3 separate regions of the Homo sapiens genome follow, and regions 2 and 3 are each linked to region 1. The links are contacts of gene promoters, found by promoter capture Hi-C in human tissues and cell types (Jung and others, 2019). All regions are on one chromosome and are shown on one strand. The core of a region is centred on a gene start or on the middle of the fragment in contact, and the rest is flanking DNA. Distances in the headings are between cores, read along the strand shown. Region 1 holds the start of RSF1 (remodeling and spacing factor 1). Region 2 overlaps INTS4 (integrator complex subunit 4). Region 3 overlaps RSF1 (remodeling and spacing factor 1).

Region 1 (3,715 bases), core at 485-2,984:
TTGTACCTTGCTTCAAATTCTTTTTTTTTTTTTTTTTTTTTGAGGTGGAGTCTTGCTCTGTCGCTCAGGCTGGAGTGCAGTGGCGCGACCTCGACTCACTGCAACCTTCGCCTCCCCGGTTCAAGGGGTTCTCCTGCATCAGCCTCCCAAGGATTCCCGGCTAATTTTCGTTATTTTTACTAGAGACGGGGTTTCACCATGTTGCCCAGGCTGGTCTGGAACTGCAGAGCTCAGGTGATGCACCCACCTCGGTTTCCCAAAGTGTTGGGATTACAGGCATGAGCCACCGCGCCCGGCCAAATTCTTTTTAGGAATTAGGTACTACATTGAGTTTTAAATGCACTCAGAAAATTCTCAAAGTAATAAATTATAGACTAAATAAATATAGCGGAATTCAGTCTAAATTATAGGAACTCCTTTTTTGATAACTAATATTTTTAAAGTACTCACTATGTGCTACGGCACTGTGCTAATCACTTTACTGTGATTTATCTAGTAATACCGTATGATGTAGGTACTATTATCACCCCACTCTAAGGAGTTCAAAGAAATAAAGAAACCTCCACAGTGTCATGAAGTAGCCCCGCTAGGACTCAGGCCTGGCTGAATCCAAAGCTCAGGCTTCTAAGCATAACGTGTACTGCTGCTTCTCAGGCTGCACATTCTATTTTACATTATTGGTAGTTTCTCTCTGGCGTTCTTTGTGGGAATGTTCACTGCCCCCGCCCCGCCCCGAAGTGGAACCCTGTCTTCTAACAAACTTTTCGCTGCTCCACCGTCTCCTGTCATGTTCCGCCTCTCAATGGAGTCCCAGCCCACACTCCGATTCTGGTCCCTGAACAGAGCCCCTTCCCCTCACACCATGGCCCCCTAGCAGAGCCTGGTCTCCTCAGATCCTCTTCTCCCAGCAGGGCCCCAACTCCTCACTCCGACGATTCCCCCAGAGTTCCGTTCCCTCAGATCCTGCTTTTCCAGCAAAGCTGCGATTCCTGTACCCCAGCAGAGAGCAATACCCCGTCGGCAAACTTCCACAGAGACATCTTACCGAGGTCCCAGCCCAGCCCCTAATTAAGGGCACACCTCTACCTTTCCCCTTCCCAACCTTCTCCCACAACTGTGCTTTCCCCCGCCCTATTCCCTTTTTCTGTTTATTAATTCTCCTCAACCTCTCCACCATCTCGTGGCCCAGTTTCAGGATTCCCCCGCAAACTCACCCACCGCACTGTCTCCTCAAAGTTGCGTTCCCAAACGGCGCAGTGCTCTGCCCGCACTTACGCTCCCAGCGCTGCTTCGGGATCTGCGCTCCCCAACTGCCCTCCGGGAATACGCCCTGCAGTTGAACAGCGCCCGAGGCCCCGCCCCCTCTGCGTCCATTGGCCATTGTTCTCGAGAAGTCCCGCCCCTCCCGCTTCCAGCCCGCCTCCCCGCCCCGCTTCCCTTGTTTTCATTCCCCCTGTCACACGAGGCAGTGGCAAGCCCGAAGGGGAGGAGAGAAGGGGGCGGAAAGAGGGCGGAAAGTGAAAGGCGCCGAGGGCCGCTCTGTCTCCCGTCTGACTCGGTTCTCGACTGCTCCGGGCCGCCGATGTATTGTGGGATCGCGGAGCCGTCCCTGAGACGCTGGGATCCGCAGAGGAGCCCACTTGAGAGCGCCTCCTGTCGTCTGTAAGGTTGCCTTGCCATCCCTCGGCACCACAACTTCCCCCGCCCCCCCATCGCCTCCTCCTCCATCCTCCAGTTCAAAATGGCGACGGCGGCGGCAGCGGCGGCGGTGATGGCTCCTCCGGGCTGCCCGGGTTCGTGCCCCAACTTCGCCGTAGTCTGCTCCTTCTTGGAGCGCTACGGGCCGCTGCTAGACCTGCCTGAGTTGCCGTTCCCTGAGCTGGAGCGGGTGCTGCAGGCGCCGCCGCCGGACGTCGGCAACGGAGAAGGTAAGCGAGGGGCCCGAACGCCCGGCGGGAAGCGGCCCTGGCGCTCTGCTACTCTCCGCTCTTCACAGGCGCCCCGGTTCTTCGCGGCTCGGGCCTCCGCGGCTCTGTCTTCCCCCTGGGACGCAACTCCGCCGGGCTGGTCTTCTCCGCCCAGCCCCCGGGGTCTTGGGCAGTGGGGAGGCGGGGCGGAGGCCCCCTAGGGCCACTCGGCCGGGCGGGGAGCTGAGGTGGAGGCGTTGCGGGCTAGGTGTGGGCTGGAGGCGGGGAGGGGTCATTGTGCCGGTCGGCAGCCCCGGGGACTGCTTCTCCGCGGCGGAGGGCGGCCCCCCACCCCGTCTCCCCCTTGGCGGCGGGGGAAGGGGAGCGCAGGTTCCGGCCAGCTTTGCGCTTTTCTCCTCCTCCCCACCCTTACTCCCTCCCCTCCTCCCACCAGTCTTCCCGACCATCTCGGGGAAGGCTGGGCTCGGCTGCTCCGGACACCTCCTTATCTCCCTTCACCTGGGTGGGCGGGGGCCAGCGGACACTCAACTCTCCCTCCCTCTGTTGGGAACTCCCCTGAGAGATTTGTCCCTTTTCCCTTCCCCTCGAGGGCTGCTTTAACCCCTAAAACTCCTTCCTTGAAGTGGGGAGGTCTGCTCCTCCCCCACGGGAGGGGGTTCTTCTCCATTCTCGGTAGGGGGGCGAAGTCGGTTCAGCTCCACTGTGGAGAGGAGAGGGTTAATTCCTCCTCCATAGTTCTCCTTCCTCTCCCCACCTCCCCCAAAATAATAGGCGAGCATCTCCCCACTTTTCCAATCCCTTCCCCCTTCATCTTGGCAGCCGGGCTTAGGCGAAGAAGTCGTCTCCCTCCCATTTGCACGGTAGGGTGGGGTGGTTAGTATGTAAGCTGGAGGAGGGGCTCTGACGGAGGGGGAAACAGTTGAAGAAGGTGCTTGTTGCTCATGTTTCTCTCTCTGGTGCCGCTGGTCTATTATTGGTGTTCGCAAGTGGTGCTCCTTCCACATAAGGCCACCGCGCGGGTGCAGGGCGCATGCTCTGCCCGGCCCCATTGAAACTTCCTGCTGCTGCTGCTGGTTCTTTTGCTGGAGCATCTCAGCGCTGCGCCTGCTGCCTCCAGCCTTCACACTGAGTGCTTATACTCACCCCCATTTATTCCCGATCCCTGCCTCTCCTTTTCTGGCACTTTTCTTTCCTCAGAGAAGGCTTTTTTGTTATACTCTGAGCATTGCCTTTATCTGGAAACAGCCCTTGGCTGGAGAAGAAACGTTTTCCAAATAGGTCTCTTTTTTTGTCCATATTAGCTGGCCAAAGTGGATTGGTTATTGTACAAGACAGATAGCTGTTTCCTTTCCAAGAAAGCAGGGTCGCTCTTCTATTCTCTATGTAAATGAAGAAGTTTCTGTTAACTGAATTTATTTGCATTGCTAGGAAGCGCCAAGTATGAAGTTCTTCAGAATATTACCTATAAAGAATCTGTATGATGTTATGGCTACCGAAGACTCAAATTAATACAGCAGTTATAATATAAGCCTAGTAATCTGTTCTTACCTGTCCACATTCCCTCTACCTGTAACAAACTGGCTTACAAAAGGCTAATTTAAAAAATAGTACAAAATAGGAGGGTGACTAATTACATTATATAAAGGCTTCTCACAGAATTTGTTTAAAAATTAAGCTCCCATTGTAGTAATTTCATTATCAAATTGTATTTACATTCTTTTTTATATTTTTTATTTTTATTTGTTTTTTGAGACGGAGTCTCACTCTGTTGCCCAGGCAGGAATGCA
Region 2 (3,715 bases), core at 1-2,500, 160 kb before region 1:
ACCCTATTGCTTTCTAAAAGGATTATTTCAGCTTACACTGAAACCTGTAACTGAACATACAGTACTCGTTCCATCAAGAAACTTTTTTTTTTTTTAACGGAGTCTCGCTCTGTCTCCCAGGCTGGAGTGCAGTGGCACGATCTCGGCTCACTGCAAGCTCTGCCTCCCGGGTTCACGTCATTCTCCTGCCTCAGCCTCCCAAGTAGCTGGGACTACAGGTGCCTGCCACCACGCCCTGGCTGATTTTTTTTGTATTTTTAGTAGAGACAGGGTTTCACCATGTTAGCCATGATGGTCTTGATCTCCTGACCTTGTGATCCACCCACTTCAGCCTCCCAAAGTGCTGGAATTACAGGCGTGAGCCACTGTGCCCGGCCAAGACACATTTTTAAAAGCACTAAAACAGGCTAGGCACAGGTTAGGCTAGGCCTGTAATACCAAAACTTTGGGAGGTCGAGGTGGGAGGATCCCTTGAGCCCAGGAATTTGAGACCAGTCTGGGCAACATAATTAGATCTTGTCTCTACAAAATATTAAAAAATTAGCCAAACATGGTTGCTCACACCTTTATCCCAGCTGCTTGGGAGGCTAAAATGTGAGGACTTCTTGGGCCTAGGAGATTGAGGCTGCAGTGAGCCATGATCATGCCACTGCATTTCAGCCTGGGTGACAGAGCGAGACGCTGTCTCAAAAAATAAATTAAAATAAAAAAATAAATACAAGCACCAAAACAATAGCATTGCTTCAGTACAGAAGTATCATTTTTTCCCATGGAAAATTCTTATGGTAGCTACATGAGAGGTGACATTTTAAGGATAACTAGGTGTTCAGTGGGGAGTGGGGTCAAGAATGGAGTCAGGTGTGGGGGAAGGCATTCTACTTAGAGAAGTTAGCCTGAGCAAAGATAGGGGGCATGTAATTATAAGTAGTTGGAAAAAAGAGTGTTAAAGGAGACCTGAAAAAGATGAAGCTAGAAAGATAGGCAAGGGTAGACAACATGGAAGGCCTGGTATGTATGTATTATATGCCTTCTAGGATATTTGGACTTTATCTTGAAGGCAATGGAAAACTTTTTTTTTTTTCTGTTTCTTCTTTTTTTTTTTTTTTTTGAGATGGAGTCTTGCTCTGTCGCCTAGGCTGGAGTGCAGTGGAGCGATCTCGGCTCACTGCAACCTCCGCCTCCCGGGTTCAAGCGATTCTCCTGCCTCAGCCTCCTGAGTAGCTGGGATTACAGGCACGTGCCACCATGCCTGGCTATTTTTTGTGTTTTTAGTAGAGATGGTGTTTCACCATGTTGGTCAGGCTGGTCTCGAATTCCTGACCTCATGATCTGCCCGCCTCAGCCTCCCAAAGTGCTGGGATTACAGGCATAAGCCACCACCGTGCCTGGCCTTTTTTTTTTTTTTCTGTTTCTTAGTGTGAAAAAACTCTTGAATCAGTCAAGCACTAAACATTTTTGGAGCACACTATGTATATAGAACTGTACTCTATCCCGTGGAGGACTCAGACATTTAAACATGATCCCTTTAGGAACTTAGCTTTTAGTTGAGGGCATGAAGGATCACACAGTAGAACCCAGTTGACAAAAGTCTGTTTTTTTTTCTGTTTTTTTAGGACTGGGTCTCGCTCTGTTGCCCAGGCTGGAGTGCTGTGGCGCGATTACGGCTCACTGCTGCCTTGATCTCTGAGGCTCAAGCAGTCCTCCTACCTCGGCCTCCTAAGTAGCTGAGACTCTGGGCGCACACCACCTGGCTGACTCATTTTTTCAGATTTATTTTTGTAGAAACGGAGTCTCCCTATGTTGCCCAGGCTCGTCTTGAACTCCTGGGCTCAAGGGATTCTCCTGCCTAGGCTTCTCAAAGTGCTGGGATTACAGTTGTGAGTCACTGCGCCTAGCCAATCTACATTCTTTACCCAAGTAAATTAGTTTATATAGTTACCCCTTTCGAAATTCTACAAGCCAACTTTCTATCTCCCTCTCTAGAGTCTCATCAAGTCCTAGCTCAACTGCTGGATACTTTGCTTGCAATTGGCACTAAGCTACCAGAGAATCAAGCTATCCAAATGCGATTAGTTGATGTGGCCTGCAAGGTAAGAGTATAAAATCTATTCAGATCCATCCTAAACTGGTAACTGAGGACTGCTAAGGACCATTAATGGTTTTAGGAGCTGCCTTATTTTTTTCATCTCTTGGTGTTGGATTAGGAATAAAGTTAAGTACACTTGTTATAAAGTGTATTTCGTCATCCTTTCAAAACAAATGAAAATAATTACAGTACATAGTTACTGTGTATATTGTGCCTAATAATGCACTCTGCTTGTTATGGTGCTTTGTATTCAGTTTTTCATTTGGTCCTCACAATCCTTCAAGTAAGTACCGTTATTTCTCTTTTACAAAGGTGAAAATTAAGATTTATGGAGTCTGATTTGTCTAAGTTTGCACAGCTAGGAGGTTGCAGTACCAGGGTATAAACTGTATTTTTTCTGACCCCAAACTTGTTTTGTTTTTATTATGCCTTGTTGCTTCAATAAACAGACCAACTATACACAAGTAAATGTATGGGAAAAGTTTTGTACGTTCTTTTTTTCTGATTTTTAAATACATGTATTAATACATTAATTGTGCCTTTTGATTTAATTTGGAGGTTAATTAGCCTCTTTGTGTATACACAGCAACCCCTAGAACCCTGTAGAATTGATTTTACTTTGGATCTTTTTGATAACTTTGAGAATATAAAAAAGTCAAATGCATTTGAATTGTGTTAGAGTATTATATTCTTGAAATTAGAAAGCTATCTCAGAGATGCAGGAAAGATTACTTGATTTATCTTAAAACAACAGGCATACATAAAACCAAAAACACTTTGACAAGTACAATACTAAAAGCTTAAATAGGGCCAGGTGCGGTGGCTCACACCTATAATCCCAGCACTTTGGGAGGCAGAGGTGGGCGGATCATTTGACATCAGGAGTTTGAAACCAGCCTGACCAACATGGTGAAACCCCATCTCTACTAAAAATACAAAAAAAATTAGCCGGGCACGGTGATGCCTGCCTGTAATCCCAGCTACTAGGGAGGCTGAGGCAGGAGAATCGCTTGAACCTGCAAGACGGAGGTTATGTGAGTGGAGATTGAGCCACTGCACTCCAGTCTGGGTGATAGAGTGAGACTCTGTCTTTAAAAAAAAAAACAAAAAAACAAAAAAAACAGCTTAAATGGAAAAAACTAGGGATTATGTGTGTGGGAGAGTAAGTACGTCTCCCCTGTGAGAGGAAATATATATCTGTGAAGTTTGCTTCTGAGAGTTGTCATAATGAATGGGTTGTGATATCTGCAGTAACTGTTTCTTAAATCTGCTTTAAATATATTTTTAACTATAAGATTTTATATTATATACTTAAATATATTTTTTATTATAATAATTTGTACTCATAGAAAATTCGGAAAGATACTGAAAACTGTAAAGAAAAATGCATTCATAATTCAGTACCCAAAGGGAATCATTATTTGTCTTTTGATATATGGCTTTCTGATTTTTTTTCTGTATGCAAATCATTTGCCATTTTTTTTCTTTAAATACATTGCTGTAATCATATAATTTTGCTCCTTTTTTGCTAACATAAGTATTTTTCTTGTATGTGTTTTATAAACATAATTTGTAATGGCTGTGTGATATTGTGATATAATTTTGCTCCTTTTTTGCTAACATAAGTAT
Region 3 (3,715 bases), core at 902-3,401, 130 kb after region 1:
TGTTTTGTTTTGAGACAGAGTCTTGCTCCGTCACCCAGGCTGGAGTTCAGGTACAGTGGCAGGGTCTCAGCTCACTGCAACCTCTGCCTCCTGGGTTCAAGCGATTCTTCTGCCTCAGCCTCTCGAGTAGCTGGGATTACAGGCACGCGCCACAATGCCCAGCTAATTTTTGTATTTTTAGTAGAGACGAGGATTTCACCATGTTGGCCAGGCTGGTCTTGAACTCCTGACCTCAAGTGATCCACCTGCCTTGGCCTACCAAAGTGCTGGGATTACAGTCATGAGCCACTACTCCCAGCTGAGAATGTATTCTTTCTAAAAGCCAAGAATGTAAACCACTAAGAATTTCTTACCTGCTTATTCTTTGGAGCCCTTTGATGCTTATACCATTTATATGTGTAAAAGCCTGATGAAAAAATTTTGACAACAGCCTCATATGCTATAGGATATGCCACTGCAATTATGAAATATTTTGATTTTTAGAAATTTTTATTTTAAAGTATGCCACAATATTTGTTTATATTACTGTCTCCAATTTACTAGTTCCTTTACTTTCTCTCCTACTCTAGGTAATCCTCTTTGTTTAAATGTCATCCTTTTTATTTTTTGGAGACAGAGTCTCGCTTTGTCACCCAGGCTAGAGTGCAGTGGCACGATAACTGCAACCTCTGCCTCCCATCTTTAAGTGATCCTCCCACCTCAGCCTCCTGAGTAGCTTGGACCACAGGCACACGCCACCACACCCGGCTAATTTTTGTATTTTTTACTACAGATGGGGTTTTGCCATGTTGGCCAGCTTGGTCTCAAATGCCTAGCCTCAAGTGATCTACCCAAGGTTACCCAAGGTGGGTAACCTTGGCCTCCCAAAATTATGGGTTTACAGGCATGAGCTACCACACCTGGCTTTAAATGTCATCCTTTAAGAGGACATCTGTAATTATGACTTTATATCATACACTAAGTTCTCAGATTGTGTATAGAAAAGAAAGGAAAGTTACTGTTACAGGAAGACCAGTCTGGCACAGAGCCAGTTAATGGATTGTTGTTGGTGTTTGCTGATTCTCCCTAATAATCTGGTTAACAAAGCTTTTGTTGTATATAGTTCCTAGAATACAAGTATGTGTGTGTGTGCATGTATACACACACATGTATATGAATCTTAGGAGCTCTAAACAGCAAAATATGTGTTTCTAAAATAAATATTAGCTGTAAATTCTAGCCATCGTCATTCAGTTTTCTAAAGTAAGCACTTATATTCACTTTTTAAAAATCTGTGAAATAACTTATTAGCATTCATCCTAGCAGCTTAGAGGTGTACTTACTCCCTATGTCATAATACAAGAGCATTTTACTCCCTGTTTACTCCCTAAGCAACCCTTGTTTATGCAGTCATTCAACATTTAAGCAACATGTATTGGGTACCTACTTTATGCCAATGAGTGTAATCAAATGAGGAAGTATATAATGTGGTCTTTACCATAGAGGTCTCTACAGTCTTGTGGAAAAGAGGGATGGATATACATTTCAGTGAGTATTTAGTGGCTAGCCAGCAACTGTCTACAGACCTGATGGTGTGATGCTCTGTGAAATCTGATGTTTTAGAAGTCCACTGAATGATTTTTAAACATACCAGTTTTAATAGCATCACAACCTATCTCTAAAAAGACCATGAATATTCTTGTTAGCAGGGCACTAAAGGCTGCACTCTAAAAGACCTAGCCAGCTGGATACATTAATATCCTTATATAAGGAACATTACAAGCAGAGAGAGACAGAATGATTACTATTTCAGTTCAGTTCAATTTAACATACAGAGGCATGTCAGAGCTCAGCTGTTCTTGAATTGGATTAACTTTGAGAGAACCAGGGAAAACACCTGCTTTTTTTTTTTTTTTTTTTTGAGACAGGGTCTCACTCTTGATGCCCAGGCTGGAGTGCAGTGGCATGATCAAAGCTCACTGCAACCTCCAACTCCTGAGTTCAAGTAATCTTCCCATCTCAGCCTTCTGAGTAGCTGGGACAATAGGTGTGTGCCACCATACCTGGCCAATTTTTATTTTTTCAATTTTTATAGAAACAGGCGTCTCACTGTGTTGCCCAGCTGGTCTTGAATTCCCAGCGTCGGGGGACCTCCTGCTTTGGATTACAGGCATGAGCCACCACACCCAGCCATCCTGCTGTTTTTTTAATATGTAATTTAATTAAAATCAACAAAGGTTTGTTTCTTGGAAATGAAACTATGGAGATGTCATTGGCTCAAGTCTGTATTTCCTGGCTCTAGTTATCTTCAGCTGTGGCCTTCTAGAGCACAGAGCTATACGTCTGCATTGCTTTTTTCTCTTTCAACAGCAAGGAATGAATGGTCTCAGTGTCATTCACTGGGACCTTGATAAGGTTTTGTTTACATAATTTTTATAGCAATATTTATTACCATGAGTTTATAATTGTTTATACATACACCCAAAATATTACTAAAAACTTTCTCCAGCATAACAAAGATCTAATTTGTCTAATCAAAGGTGGCTTTCCATCTAATCTTATCAACTTGTCACAGCATGACTCTTGATGAAGTTGCTTGTCTTATTTCAGTTATAGGTTTTATTTCACCAATGTAAGTCATTTCTGAAAGATATTGTTATCTTAACCCTAGGAAATGTTGAGCTCCCCACACATACTAATACTATATTAAAGTTTTATACTTAATAGCTAACATGGGCCAGGAGCAGTGGTCACACCTATAATCCCAGCACTTTGAGAGGTCAAGGTGGGTGGATCGCTTGAGGCCAGGAATTTGAGACCAGCCTGGCCAACATGGCAAAACCCCATCTCTACTAAAAATACAAAAATTAGCTGGTTGTGGTGGCTCTCACCTGTAATCCCAGCTACTTGCAAGGCTGAGGCAGTAGAATCACTTGAACCCGGGAAGTAGAGGTTGCAGTGAGCTAAGATTACGCCACTGCACTCCACCCTGGGCAAGAGAGTGAGACCTTGTCTATAAATAAATAAATAAATAATAGCTAACATTTCTGTGACTTACCCTCTGCTGTTAACGTGAAATTGTAATTTTAACATTATGTGTATTCGTGATGTTTACATAACAGTTTTATTTTCTGCAAATCTCATGTATTTTGTTTGTTTTTCACCTAAAGAAAAGAACGCTTGGTGTATGTTGGTATCAGTATTGAAAACATCATTCCTCCACAAGTAAGTTTCTGATTTGTAATGTTTTTAAATGGGAGATTGTCATAATTGCTCTAAAATTTTACCCACCTTATGTAATGTTAGTGGTTTTATTTATTTATTTATTTATTTATTTATTTCGAGATGGAGTTTCGTTCTTGTTGCCCAGACTGGAGTGCAATGGCGCAATCTCTGCTCACTGCAGTGTCTGCCTCCTGGGTTCAAGCAATTCTCCTGCCTCAGCCTCCTGAGTAGCTGGGATTACAGGTGCCCGCCACCATACCGGCTAATTTTTGTATTTTTAGTACAGACGGGGTTTCACCATGTTGGCCAGGATGGTCTCGAACTCCTGACCTCAGGTGATCTGCCTGTCTTGGTCTCCCAAAGTGCTGGGATTATAGGTGTGAGCCACTGCTCCTGGACAGTGGTTTTAAATCTATGATACACCAGTATTAAAAATGGAAATTTAAGACCTTCGAGAAATCACCCATAATCCCTCATGATTGAAATTTTATGTATGCAGGTAACTCCAAAA

The links. Contacts are between HindIII fragments. The study calls those that stand out against the background at their distance.
Region 2: a fragment that was not itself captured here is called in contact with the fragment with the promoter of RSF1 in region 1 in 1 of the 25 tissues and cell types used here (mesenchymal stem cells).
Region 3: a fragment that was not itself captured here is called in contact with the fragment with the promoter of RSF1 in region 1 in 2 of the 25 tissues and cell types used here (aorta and dorsolateral prefrontal cortex).

The regions. Positions count from the first base shown.
Region 1 is chr11:77,818,741-77,822,455 of GRCh38, reverse strand. It overlaps RSF1 (remodeling and spacing factor 1), which reads left to right and starts at 1,734. Exons shown (of 16, transcript NM_016578.4): 1 at 1,734-1,928. The coding sequence starts at 1,742. It overlaps AAMDC (adipogenesis associated Mth938 domain containing), which reads right to left and starts at 1,312. Exons shown (of 4, transcript NM_024684.4): 1 at 1,215-1,312. RefSeq lists silencers at 1,275-1,434, 2,025-2,114, 2,255-2,344 and enhancers at 1,535-1,674, 1,685-1,854, 1,407-2,379, 2,975-3,084, 2,380-3,353. The HindIII fragment of the contact is 12,017 bases long and covers 1-3,715 here.
Region 2 is chr11:77,977,371-77,981,085 of GRCh38, reverse strand. INTS4 (integrator complex subunit 4) reads left to right here. Exons shown (of 23, transcript NM_033547.4): 4 at 1,984-2,090. Among named protein-coding and RNA genes, the nearest start is that of INTS4, 15 kb to the left of the region's middle. The HindIII fragment of the contact is 5,857 bases long and covers 1-3,715 here.
Region 3 is chr11:77,684,594-77,688,308 of GRCh38, reverse strand. RSF1 (remodeling and spacing factor 1) reads left to right here. Exons shown (of 16, transcript NM_016578.4): 10 at 3,150-3,204. Among named protein-coding and RNA genes, the nearest start is that of CLNS1A, 49 kb to the right of the region's middle. The HindIII fragment of the contact is 6,273 bases long and covers 1-3,715 here.